Linked DNA regions of Homo sapiens: all the other regions are linked to region 1. Evidence: promoter capture Hi-C in 16 types of primary human blood cells and fetal thymus (Javierre and others, 2016). All regions are on one chromosome and are shown on one strand. Each heading gives the region's core, a stretch centred on a gene start or on the middle of the fragment in contact. The rest is flanking DNA. Distances are from core to core; before and after follow the strand shown. Region 1 holds the start of FCRL6 (Fc receptor like 6). Region 2 overlaps LOC124904438 (a long non-coding RNA gene). Region 3 overlaps KCNJ10 (potassium inwardly rectifying channel subfamily J member 10). Region 4 has its middle 22 kb from the start of LINC01133.

Region 1 (2,700 bases), core at 142-2,641:
TGAGCCAAGATTACACTCCAGCCTGGGCAACAGAGCAAGACTCCTTCTCAATAAAAAAAAGAAAAAAGAAAGAAAAGAAACAAGAAAATGAAAATGCTTCCTAGTATTTTGCCTGACTCTGTGTTTCACCGTGAACTCCCATGTTCTGTCCACAGAGGAGATGAGAATGTGTGACCTCTTTTTCTGTTGAGGGAACATTGAATAATTTCCAGTTTTTATCTATTACAAATGATGCTGCTATGAGCACTCTTGTATATGTTTTTTCAGGCTTATATGTATACATTTCTGTTTGACATTTACCCAGGAGTGAAAATGCTGAGCCATCAGGGATCCCTGTGTTTAGTTTTGGTAGATTCTGCCAAGCCATTTTCTAGTGACTGTACCAATTTATATTCCCACTAGTGGTGTACAAGAGTTCTAGTTTCTTCACATCCTCACCAATACTCAGTAGAGGATTGCATGGGGAGGGTCACGGGCTCCCCCAGACCCAGCTCAGTCTCAGCTGGTATCACTCCCTTATTCTTATGGAAGGTGTAGTGGTATCTTATTATGGTTTAAATTTGCATTTCCACGGTGATTTATGATGTCTAGCTCCTTTTGCTATGTTGATTTGACACGTGGATATCTGCTTCTGTGAAGTACCTATCCAATTATTTTTGCCCATTTTTCTAGTATGTTGTCTGTCCTTTTCTTACTGACTTGCAGAAATTCTTATATTTCTTCTGTGGGCCCTTTGTCAGCTACATGTATTTAAACTATCTCATCACACCACAGCTTGCCTGTTCCTTCTCTTAATGGTGTCTTTTAAGGAATAGTTCTCAAAATCATACTGACAGTCTTAAAAGCCTCAGATGCCGAAGCTCCATCTGTGTTCTACTCCAGACTCATCGATGTCTGATTCCCTCCTGAACTGAGGATCCTGTGAAGCATCCTCAGGGCTCCACTTCTCCATCGCATTGCAGCATCCACACACATTTACCTCTGGAGACAGGAGCTCCTTGGAAGCTGGGAGGTCACTCGGTGGTCAAGGGGTAGATGATCTTAGTTTTACAGTGCTGCGCTGTCTCCCAGGCTGAATGACGCTGAAGCCAAGCAAATTCGGGCAGTCTCTGGACCTTTCTAATGGAGGTGTCCCATAACCATGTTCCATCCTAGTTCCCTGGCATAGGCTTGTTGAAGCTGCAGAAAATGTCAGGGATTTATTAGTGATTTACCGACTCCTTCATACTTAGTGTTCAGGAAAATTTATTCATGTAATACTTCTTCAACCAAAGAGGAAATATCAATTAGAGCTTTGTAAGTTTCTTTTCCACTTCCTATTTTGGCTATCAAGCTATAGCACCACCCAGCTCAGGCCACCCACCCACCTTCGGTCCTGAGGCCTGGTTGCTCTCTGCCGGCTTCGCCCTGACCTGTTTCTGACCTGTGTTCCCTCCGCTGTGCCAGAACAGGCCCCATGCTGCTCTGGACGGCTGTGCTGCTCTTTGGTAAGTCAACGAGCATGGGCATCCCCTCTTGGAGCACTAAGGACCGTAAGTCATCCCTGAGACACCAAGTTCCTCATCTTACCTTTCCCAATTCCAGTGGGTTTGTGGCTGGAGCTCAAGACAGGTGTGTGCACCTGGGCATGCTTGGGAGAGATGGGCACTGGGGTAGGAGAAACTCCTCAGTGTTTCCTACCCCGTAGTCCTGGGTCCTTGGCAGCGCAGCCCTTTGATATGTCAGAGATAAATTAGGGAGGCAGAAAATCACATTACAAAGTCCCCTAACTTCCCAATGACATTTCTACCTTGTGACATCAGGTTAAAATACTAATCAGAGCTGTCTCAAAAGGAAATGGAGGTTGCAGGAGGGAAGGAGGCTGCTGGGGGCAACAGGGAAGGAGTCAGGGAAATGAGGGGAAACAGTCCCAGGCATTTTGCTCAGCAATGGGAGGTGGAATTTTACAGGGTGACATATTTTTATGGAGCCTCAGCATTTTCTTAGAACCAGGTAACAATGGCCAGACCTCTCACCTGGTTGAAAGGCCTGTGCTCTGAGTAACCAAAGCCCTTTTCAAATTGACTGTCTCTCTTCCGCCTACATCTTCTCTCTGTTGGGAGCTGTTTCAGATCCATGGGGCTGGTTTGAAGAATCAACTCCATTGTCTGATCCATGTCTCTCTCTCTCTTCTCTCCATTTCTTCTCATGCAGGCTACTTGTAACTAAGAGAGCTGGTCTAAGGGTAGAGGATTGCACGCAGAGGGTCACTGGGCTCCCCCAGACCCAGCTCAGTCTCAGCCAGTGTCACCCCCCTTATACCTAAAAGAAATAATTTGGCATATATTTTGTTTCACTTTACAGTTTCCAAGTGGACCTACTTTTTGTTTAATTCTTGGTCCCAATAGCTTGCTTGCTATTTGTATTCCTTGAACTAGAAAAGCAAAACTGTTCCTAAATATAACCTCTTCCTGGACAGAGTTTGTGAGAATTTGACCCTGTGAGGAAAATGCCCCTTCCACTCAATGTTCCTTCTCCAGCATAGCATGCTACTCGTGTGTTCTATGAATGGCCATTTGGACAAATGAAAAGGTCTAATGCTCACACTGAGGCGGGGACAGGATAGCCTAATGCCTGGATATACTCCAGGCAGAAGACTCCCAGGGGCAAATGGCACTACCGGCACTACCTTGTAAAAGGAACAGCCCTTGGACTTGTCTA
Region 2 (2,700 bases), core at 15-2,514, 140 kb after region 1:
GGCGCGCCACAGAGGCGGCAGCGAGGGTTGAAATCTGAGCCTGGGGGTAGGAGAACCAGGCGGGGAGCATGACTCCCCGCCCTCCTCCCAGGGGATCCACCCAGGTCCCGGGCTCATCCGATCTCCTCCCCCATCCCCATTTCTACCTCCACCCATTGCTTCTCTAGCAGGACTGGAAATACCTGTCTGCATTGGCGAGCTCCCAAATCTTGCCCAGGCGCCTCCCACCGTGTGCAGCTGAGGAAGGCTGTGCTCTGAGCGTGGGGTTGCCAAGTCAGCTCCCAAGGCAGCTCTGGCACCAACGACCCAGAGAAACAGGCCCAGAGGGGAGAAACGACAGATATCCTGACACGGGAGATTGAAAGGGAGGAATGAAATACAAGATCACTTACTGGACCCATGCAGGGTGCCAGACCCTGGACTAGATGCTTTATAACTCTTGTGTAACCTTCACAGAAACCCTGCGAAGTAAGTAGAGCTCCCTTTGACTAATGAGAAAACTGAGGCTCAGGGAGATGAAGTAACTTGGCCCAAGCTTTCCCAACTAGGTTATGGCAGAGCTGGATTGAGACCCAACCCAAACTTCATCAAACCTACTCCCTTGGAGGCTTCGCCCTCAGACACAAAGATATCTTGCATATCTTGCCCCTCAGAGATTCCACCTCCTCAGCCTGGTGATGCTGTAGGGATGCTGGGTCGGCTTAAGCAACATTGCCTGTCCAGGTCCTTCCCATTCAGTTGGCTCCCTTGGAAGCCTTCCATGAAAGCAACGTGCTGATCTCATCCCAATCCGAAGTACTAAGACTCAAACTGAGTGCACCAGGCATCAGACTCACAGAATCACTGCTGCAGCATCATGAGAGAACCTCCAGGATGGGCCTAAGCACTACTTGGCCCCAGAATCCCTGGCACATCATTTCTCCATGTAGTCATCCAAGCCCCTATCTCATTACATCCTGGGCCAGGAAGCTCAGCACTACTGTTGTACCCATTCCATCCTTAGTAAGCTCTGCCTGCTGGACAGTTCTTCCAGGTGTAAAGGTTTTAGTGCTTTTGGGTGACTGAGATGGAAGGGAAGAGGCAGGAGCAGTGGGCCAGTCTCTCCCACCATCCCTCCTGCAAATAGTCCCAAAGTAGCAGCTTTTCAACAATGCATTTCAACATAATACCCTGATCTATTGATAAGACTATAATGGAAACATGTTAATGAATGCAGCATGGAAGCAAGGCTAGAAGAAATGGTAAAAGAGTGAAGCGGGTTTTTTGTTTGTTTGTTTTTTTGTTTTGACAGAGTCTCACTCTATCGCCCAGGCTGGAGTGCAGTGGTGCAATCTCGGCTCACTGCAACCTCCACCTCCCGGGTTCAAGCGATTCTCCTGCTTCAGCCTCCCAAGCAGCTGTGATTACAGGCGGCCACCACCATGCCTGGCTAATTTTTGTATTTTTAGTAGAGATGGGGTTTCACCATCTTGACCAGGCTGGTCTTGAACTCCTGACCTCATGATCCACCCACCTCGGCCTCCCAAAATGCTGGGATTACAGGTGTGAGCCACTGCCCCCGGCCGAGCCAAGTGTTTTTTAGTCTTTGGATCTTTACCAATCATTGGGAAGGATCTCCCTCCCCGCTGTTAGAATTGGCCACACCTTTGATCTAAACTGCTGTCTCCAGTGGTTTCTTGAGGATAAACTAATCTCATTTAGACATTAAAATAACTTTCTGTTAAATGACATTTAAAATGGTTTTCAATTTTTAAAAGTTTATGATATGGCCTTTTTTTTCTGGAAACTTATTTTGTGACTTTTATTGTTATTGCCATTTTTTGTCTGATTTATATGTATATTGGAGATTTTTTGTTAAGAAAAGGAACCTAGCCCTATAACTTGTTCCCTCACTGTGCCAGGAGTGAAAGCTGATTTAAAAAATAGTCCCTGAGGTTCAAAACAAAAGACTTTCCTCTAGGTTGTCCTTGATTCATAGTCATTACTCTCTGGGAAAGCTTATTCAACCAACGAGGATTCCACCTAACCTAAGTATCAGGCAGCCCCCATATTTTCAAATTGCTGACAAGGATATCAGAAAATATTCTCTCTCTCCCCCTCCTCCTCCTCCTCCTCTTCTTCCTCCTTCTTCTCCTTCTCCTGCTTTCTTCTTTCCTCTTTCCTCCTCCTCCTCCTTCTCCTCCTCCTCCTCTGCTGCTGCTTTTCCTCCTCCTCCTCCTCCTCCTCCTCCTCCTTCTCCTTCTTCTTCTTTTCTCTCTCTGTCTCTCTCTCTGTCTCTCAGAGCTGGGGTATTCTCCTCCTCTTGCCTTTGAACATCAAAACTCCAGGCTCTCCAGACTTGGGACTGTGAGTTATACCATTGGCCTCCCTGGTTGTGAGGCTTTTGGAGTTGGACTGAGCCACACTTTTGCCATCCCAGGGCCTTCTTTGTGCATGTTGTAGGACTTGGCCTCCACCATCATGTAAGCCAATTCCCCTAATAAATCCCATCTCATATTTCTATATCTGTATCTATCTATCTTATTGGTTCTGTCTTCCTGGTGTATACCTAATATTTCAGCAGGCCTTGGGAAGAAAGGACCTGAGCTGCTCCATAGCCCTGCACAAAGAAGATGGTGTGACCTCAGAGATGTCTGCTTGGCATCGTTAAGCACAGGTGTTCCTAATCAGCAAAGTTTCTCATTGTCTATAGATAAGCAG
Region 3 (2,800 bases), core at 56-2,555, 240 kb after region 1:
TCCAGCAAAGGTAGTGTGTTACTGTACAAGTGAACTAGGTTAGCTAGCAAGAATAAAGGACCAGGGCAGCAGCCATGGAGAGGGCACAGTGTCCTGGACTTGTAGCAATAGTATAACTGGCTTTCTTTCTCTGCTCAGACCTTATAGGGAAACTACTGGATGATTTTATTAGGCTGACAGGGGTTGGGGGAATAATGGGGTGAAGCACATTGCAGAGATTTCGGAAGCCTCTCATGGAACTTCACCATCCCCTAGAGCAGCTGGTAACCCCACTCCTCATTTTCATTCAGAAGCATCAAAACCAAAGCATCACCCTCCATGCCCAAATGCCAGGATTGGAACTCTTCTGGAATCCATGGCTTTCTCTTTGGGCTGCTTGCAGCCACACAAAAGGCTGGGCCTTGACCTTGGGAGATCTTCAGCCTAACAGCTATTAGTCCTGGCATTTGGATTCCAGGGTTGAGGCTTCCCATTAGTGCCTCCCATACACCAAAGTGTTCAGCTCCTGAGTTTGATTTCAGGGGCTAGAGCAATAGCAGCTCCCACCCCTGTGGAAGACGGAAATACAGTGTACTTCATGAAAGGGAAACAAAATGGTGCTTTATTTTATTTTATTTATTTTAAAAAGGCGCTACAGTGGCAGGACGCTGCTGGGGATGGGGACACACAGTGTAAGTGGTAGATTTTCCAAGACTTCCCCTCCCTATTGTCCTCCGAGTTCCTCTCTTCCTGGTCCTATCAGTAGCATAGGATTCAACAAAAGCCTTCATGAATGCCTCTTTATTTCTGAAAAGGAACTTCTACCCCTCCCTTTCCCATTTCCAGACTTGAAATCCTTCATCAGCTATCTCACTTCCATGTTGAAACCAGGACCACTGATTGTAAGTCTGAAAATCTGGGTGTCCTACCCCATAACCAGGCCAAGATATCTGCCCCCAATGCTAAAGTCTCTGAATATTTCCTTTCTGTACATTCAATATATTTGGGCATATATACATCTATATACATCTTTCTATATATATATTATCTCTGTTTCTTTCTTCTTAGATAAACCTTTCATATATGTCATATCCTAATTTCCCAAGCCTCCCCACTTCTTGTTTGCGAGCCTAAGCAAGACTCAAGAGTTTCATTGATTTCACTAGGTCCCTCAGCATCATTTCTTTCTCATCTTCTCACCCCAGGTATCTTCCCCCATCAGTTGTTTCGCCCGTCTTCTGAAATCTCCCCTTTTTACACCTGTGCCTACCGAAATCTCCCCTTTTTACAACTGTGCCTACTACTCTGCTGATATTCCAAGTCCACAGTTGGTATGGGGGCCCATTTCTCACCAGACCTGGCTGCTTCTAAAGCTCGGCCTATTGCCTAAAAGAGGATTTCAGGTCAGAGGAGACAGACTATAGTCTAAAGAACCATTTAGAGTTAAGGTAGGGGGTAGTTGTTCCCTGTAGGGGGCTTGTGGGAGAAGATGCCAGATCGCATTAATAGGACAGTGTGATTTAAAGTGCAACTTAAAGCAAAGCCTGGGTAATAATGGAGGAGATTCCAAAAGGGTAAGTCAGAAAATGTTTTCTTCTCACTGTTTCATCCAAGAGTCTAGAGGCTTGAGTCTGGGGGCTTAGAATAGACAGCAGGGGAATGGGAAGAAAGCATAGCATGGCCAAATAAACCAGATGGAGGTTAACTTGGCAATGGATAGGAAGGTATAGACACACACACACACACACACACACACACACACACACACACACACACACACAGCAGTACATCTTGTCCCTACACACTGAAAGAAATAAGGTAAGTCTAATGTTGAATAAAGTTGAGAACGCAGAAGCTGGCTCTTGGCCTTCTGTTCTCTGTTTCAGATTTTTCAAGTTTTTGTGGTTCTTGTTTTTATGCCAACTAGAAGGTAATGGTGGGGTTTACTGTAGATGGACACCGAAGGGTCTTTGTTTTCAAGATATAGTTAGTTGAGTTCGAGGAGAGATCAATATAACAAGACCTTGTGCAATTATAGTTGGTGGTGATCATGGGTCTAGCCTCAAAATTTTGTGTTTCTCTGCAAGGCTCTGTACATAGATGCATGTATATATTCTGTAGCTTGTAACAATTGGCTGAGACCACCTTAAACTGCAACTTGACTTATAGTGGGACTATGCAGTACCACTATGTGAGGCTTCCTTGGTACCAAAGTGAGACCAGAAAGCACTCTAGGGATTTGGGGCTTTGGATAAAGCTCTGGTGCCTATATGCCCTTCCCTGACCCTTACCACAGACCCCACCAGGGAACAAGGAATAGGCTGAGTTTGATCTCTTAAAGTCTACTTTTTAACTTGTCTGAAAATGGCCTCATGGCAGAGGAGAGTAGAGATGACACTGATTTCTTCATTTTATACCAAGTCTCAGGAATGGCTGAGGGAAGCCATGGTTATTTGATCAGAAGGTATAATTTCATTTCCTTCCAGCATTGCCTAATGAAATAGCTGGCACTTTTCAGAAGGGCACTGGGAGGTGTAACTGAGAATAGTGGCTGCCAGCCACAGAGTTCTGCTCCTGCCCAAACCTTAACAAAGCATCACCAATTCTCAGAGGCTCTGTACAGCAGTTTGGAAATCTGAGAATTTACCCATCCCTCATGGTGGGATTGTGTTAACTTTCTGGGGAATCTGTGCCCTGTGAATCTAGTTTTACTTGAGCATCCGTGTTAAGAGAGGAAGGCCCTTGCATTTTCCCTCCCTTCTCCCAAAGAGTTGGGGTTAAGGAAGAAGGATCTAGGCTGAGCAGGAAAGGAAGAAGAGAA
Region 4 (2,700 bases), core at 96-2,595, 180 kb after region 1:
TCCATTCTCCCGTGACTGGCCTTAGAGCAGACTGTGCTGCTGCAGGCATCTCTGTGCTGTCAGGGAGTGTGCTCAGGTCTCCCTTCAAGAGAACCTGGTGCAAGAAGCCTCCAGCCTCCTGCTGCTATATTTTGGTTGTGTTGGGTGTTCACACTGCCCCATGCTGCTCCCAGCCAATGACTGAGCACAGAGGGTGCCAGAAACAGGGCTAGAAACAGGCCACTGTGCCTGATGTGAGGCCTCGCTAAGAGGCGAGCTCTGTTCTGGGACACTAAGCCTGGCGGGGACATCCTGGAGCTGCACCACAGTTTGAGGATCATCCTACCTGATCCTCTTCCCAGCCTGCTCTCCTTTCCCAGGTGTCTGACCTGCACTGCAGTCTGAAGTCTCTCCTGACCACTCCTTCTGCCCGCTCTTCATCCTTCACAGGTGTGGTGTTTCCCACAATGCCTCTGCAGGTCTAATCTTGTCTTGGCCTCTGCTTCTCAACAAATCTGGCTGCCCCTAGTTGTCCTTCCTTCAATTCATCCTCCACACTGTTAGAGTCCTCCTCCTTTCTAAAGTCCAGATCTGATCTTGTCACGCTCTGCTTCCATTCTTTCCAAGATGTCTGTTTACTTACAAGATAAATTAGAAGCTTATGTCTCTTGAGACTCAGCCTGTGCTCAACTGTCCACTCTCTTATTCCCTACCCAAGGCCCCATCTTGACAGCCACATGGAACTATCTACACTCTAGTCTAAACGTCAATGCCGCTTCACATCAAGGCCTGTGGACATATAACGCCTCCTTTTTGGAACATCTTTCTCCATTCTCATCACCCCTTCCTGCCGCACACTCACTCACTCATACACACACACTTCTCCCAGTGATCTTTAAATTCCTATTAAGATCCATGCAAATGTTCCCTTCTCGATAGAGGTTTCCTGGACACACCCAAGCAGAGGAAATCATGCCTCTCTTTGTGCTATTTTTAGCACTTACTAATATCTCTTATGACATTTATCAAACTGTCCCACAATTCTTTGTCTTTTAGGGAAGCCTTTAGGGTAGGCATAAAGTCATTTCTGTATCTCCAACACTAGCATAGTACATCGTGTAATGTTAAGTATGTCTATATGGGTACATATGCATACACACACATGTGTGTAGGAAACATAACGACATGGCTGGGCGCGGTGGCTCACGCCTGTAATCCCAGCACTCTGGGAGGCTGAGGTGGGAGGATCACGAGGTCAAGAGATGGAGACCATCCTGGACAACATGGTGAAACCCCGTTTCTACTAAAAATACAAAACTTAGCTGGGTGTGGTGGCACGTGCCTGTAGTCCCAACTACTTGGGAGGCTGAGGCAGGAGAATCGCTTGAACCCGGGAGGCAGAGGTTGCAGTGAGCTGAGATTGCACCACTGTACTCCAGCCTGGTGACAGAGTGAGACTCCGTCTCAAAAAAATAAAAAAAGAAAAAAAGAAACATATCAACATTAGAGTTTCTAGCTTATATCCCAATATCTTGGCCATTCATTAGAACCCTGGTTAGGCTCCTCTCTTATCAACTTACCCTCATGACCAGCTTCTGCCTCCTGTTCCCATCAGAGGAGGTTTAAGGCCAATTAGCAACATGTGTCTTTCATCCTTTTCTTTTCTTCTACTGTGGAGGTTCATCACAGCACTTCTATCAGTTCACCAGATGAAAGAGGCATCCATCTGTGCCTCTTCATCTGTTGGTTGTAATGCAGCACATATGATAAGTGGGTATTGAGTGGACCTGGACTGGAGTCACAATCACTGATTATGTGCTGGAAGTCAGAGGGGGACAGGGAAAGTCCCCCTTTCCTAGGAAAAGGGTCCTCAAGTTGCCAAGAAAAGCAAGAGATCAAATTCCCCCGAGGAGTGGATTTCTGACCACTCCTTGGTTTGTTTTTTGTTTTTGTTTTGTTTTGTTTGTTTTTTGCTTGAGTTAATTTAAGTTAGTTTCTATTACTTGCAACTAAGAAGTTTTAATGAATTCACTTGAAATACTATTGTTAGGAAGGAAACAACTTGCTTGAGAGGTCAAGCTTAGGCTGAAAGTCAACATTGGCCAAGGCACTTAGAGAGCAATTAATCCTCGTGGCAAGGCAGGGATGGGGTGGAGGGGATAGATGATTCCTAAGGTCCTTTCTAAGAGGATAAGAGTGCTTCCCCTGGTCAGTGGTTCTGGCTAGTCTCCTCCCTCCCTTCAAAATGCGAAGCAAAAGGCAGGGAGAAGGTCTCCTTGCAGATCTTCAGCTCTCTCAGGGAAAGAGACCCACGTCACTCCCAGCAGAGTCCTGCATGGCAGCAAGGGGCCAGGGCGGAAGAAGAACAAAAGACACCTGGAGAAGAAAGGCAGTGCCTTTCCCTGCAGCAGCCAGGGCTGCAGATATGATGGAGCAGGGGAGATGGTCTCTTCTAGAGCAGCATGAGCCGAGTTACACAGATGATGTAAGGAAGAAGTAGAGAAACTGCAGTCTCAGCTCAGAGTTTTCCTTACATGCTTGTGAAAATAAAGTCACCCTCTGTTGCAGGCTGAATAATGGCCCCCCAGGATGTCCACATTCTAATCCCTGGAACCTGTCCATGTTTTATTATATGGCAAAAGAGACTTTGTAGATGTGATTAAATTAAGGCTCTTGAGATTGGGAGATTATCCTGGATTATCAGAGTAGGCTTGATGTAAT

What was found. The method cuts DNA at HindIII sites, captures the fragments that hold promoters and counts their contacts. A CHiCAGO score of 5 or more calls a contact.
Region 2: a fragment that was not itself captured here is called in contact with the fragment with the promoter of FCRL6 in region 1 in 12 of 17 cell types (naive CD4 T cells, total CD4 T cells, non-activated CD4 T cells and 9 more); the score reaches 16.7 in naive CD4 T cells.
Region 3: a fragment that was not itself captured here is called in contact with the fragment with the promoter of FCRL6 in region 1 in 2 of 17 cell types (naive CD4 T cells and megakaryocytes); the score reaches 5.7 in naive CD4 T cells.
Region 4: a fragment that was not itself captured here is called in contact with the fragment with the promoter of FCRL6 in region 1 in 5 of 17 cell types (naive B cells, total B cells, megakaryocytes and 2 more); the score reaches 10.8 in naive B cells.

The regions. Positions count from the first base shown.
Region 1 is chr1:159,800,969-159,803,668 of GRCh38, forward strand. FCRL6 (Fc receptor like 6) reads left to right here and starts at 1,392. Exons shown (of 10, transcript NM_001004310.3): 1 at 1,392-1,487. The coding sequence starts at 1,457. LOC105371464 (a long non-coding RNA gene) reads right to left here. Exons shown (of 3, transcript XR_922195.2): 1 at 1,570-2,700; 2 at 980-1,179. The HindIII fragment of the contact is 5,270 bases long and covers 1-2,700 here.
Region 2 is chr1:159,945,985-159,948,684 of GRCh38, forward strand. LOC124904438 (a long non-coding RNA gene) reads left to right here. Exons shown (of 3, transcript XR_007066684.1): 2 at 168-468. Among named protein-coding and RNA genes, the nearest start is that of IGSF9, 1.7 kb to the left of the region's middle. RefSeq lists an enhancer at 1-252. The HindIII fragment of the contact is 1,462 bases long and covers 534-1,995 here.
Region 3 is chr1:160,037,665-160,040,464 of GRCh38, forward strand. It overlaps KCNJ10 (potassium inwardly rectifying channel subfamily J member 10), which reads right to left. Exons shown (of 2, transcript NM_002241.5): 2 at 1-2,800. Among named protein-coding and RNA genes, the nearest start is that of PIGM, 7.1 kb to the left of the region's middle. The HindIII fragment of the contact is 3,750 bases long and covers 1-2,800 here.
Region 4 is chr1:159,981,583-159,984,282 of GRCh38, forward strand. It overlaps a transcript of SLAMF9 not described here. Among named protein-coding and RNA genes, the nearest start is that of LINC01133, 22 kb to the left of the region's middle. The HindIII fragment of the contact is 1,421 bases long and covers 636-2,056 here.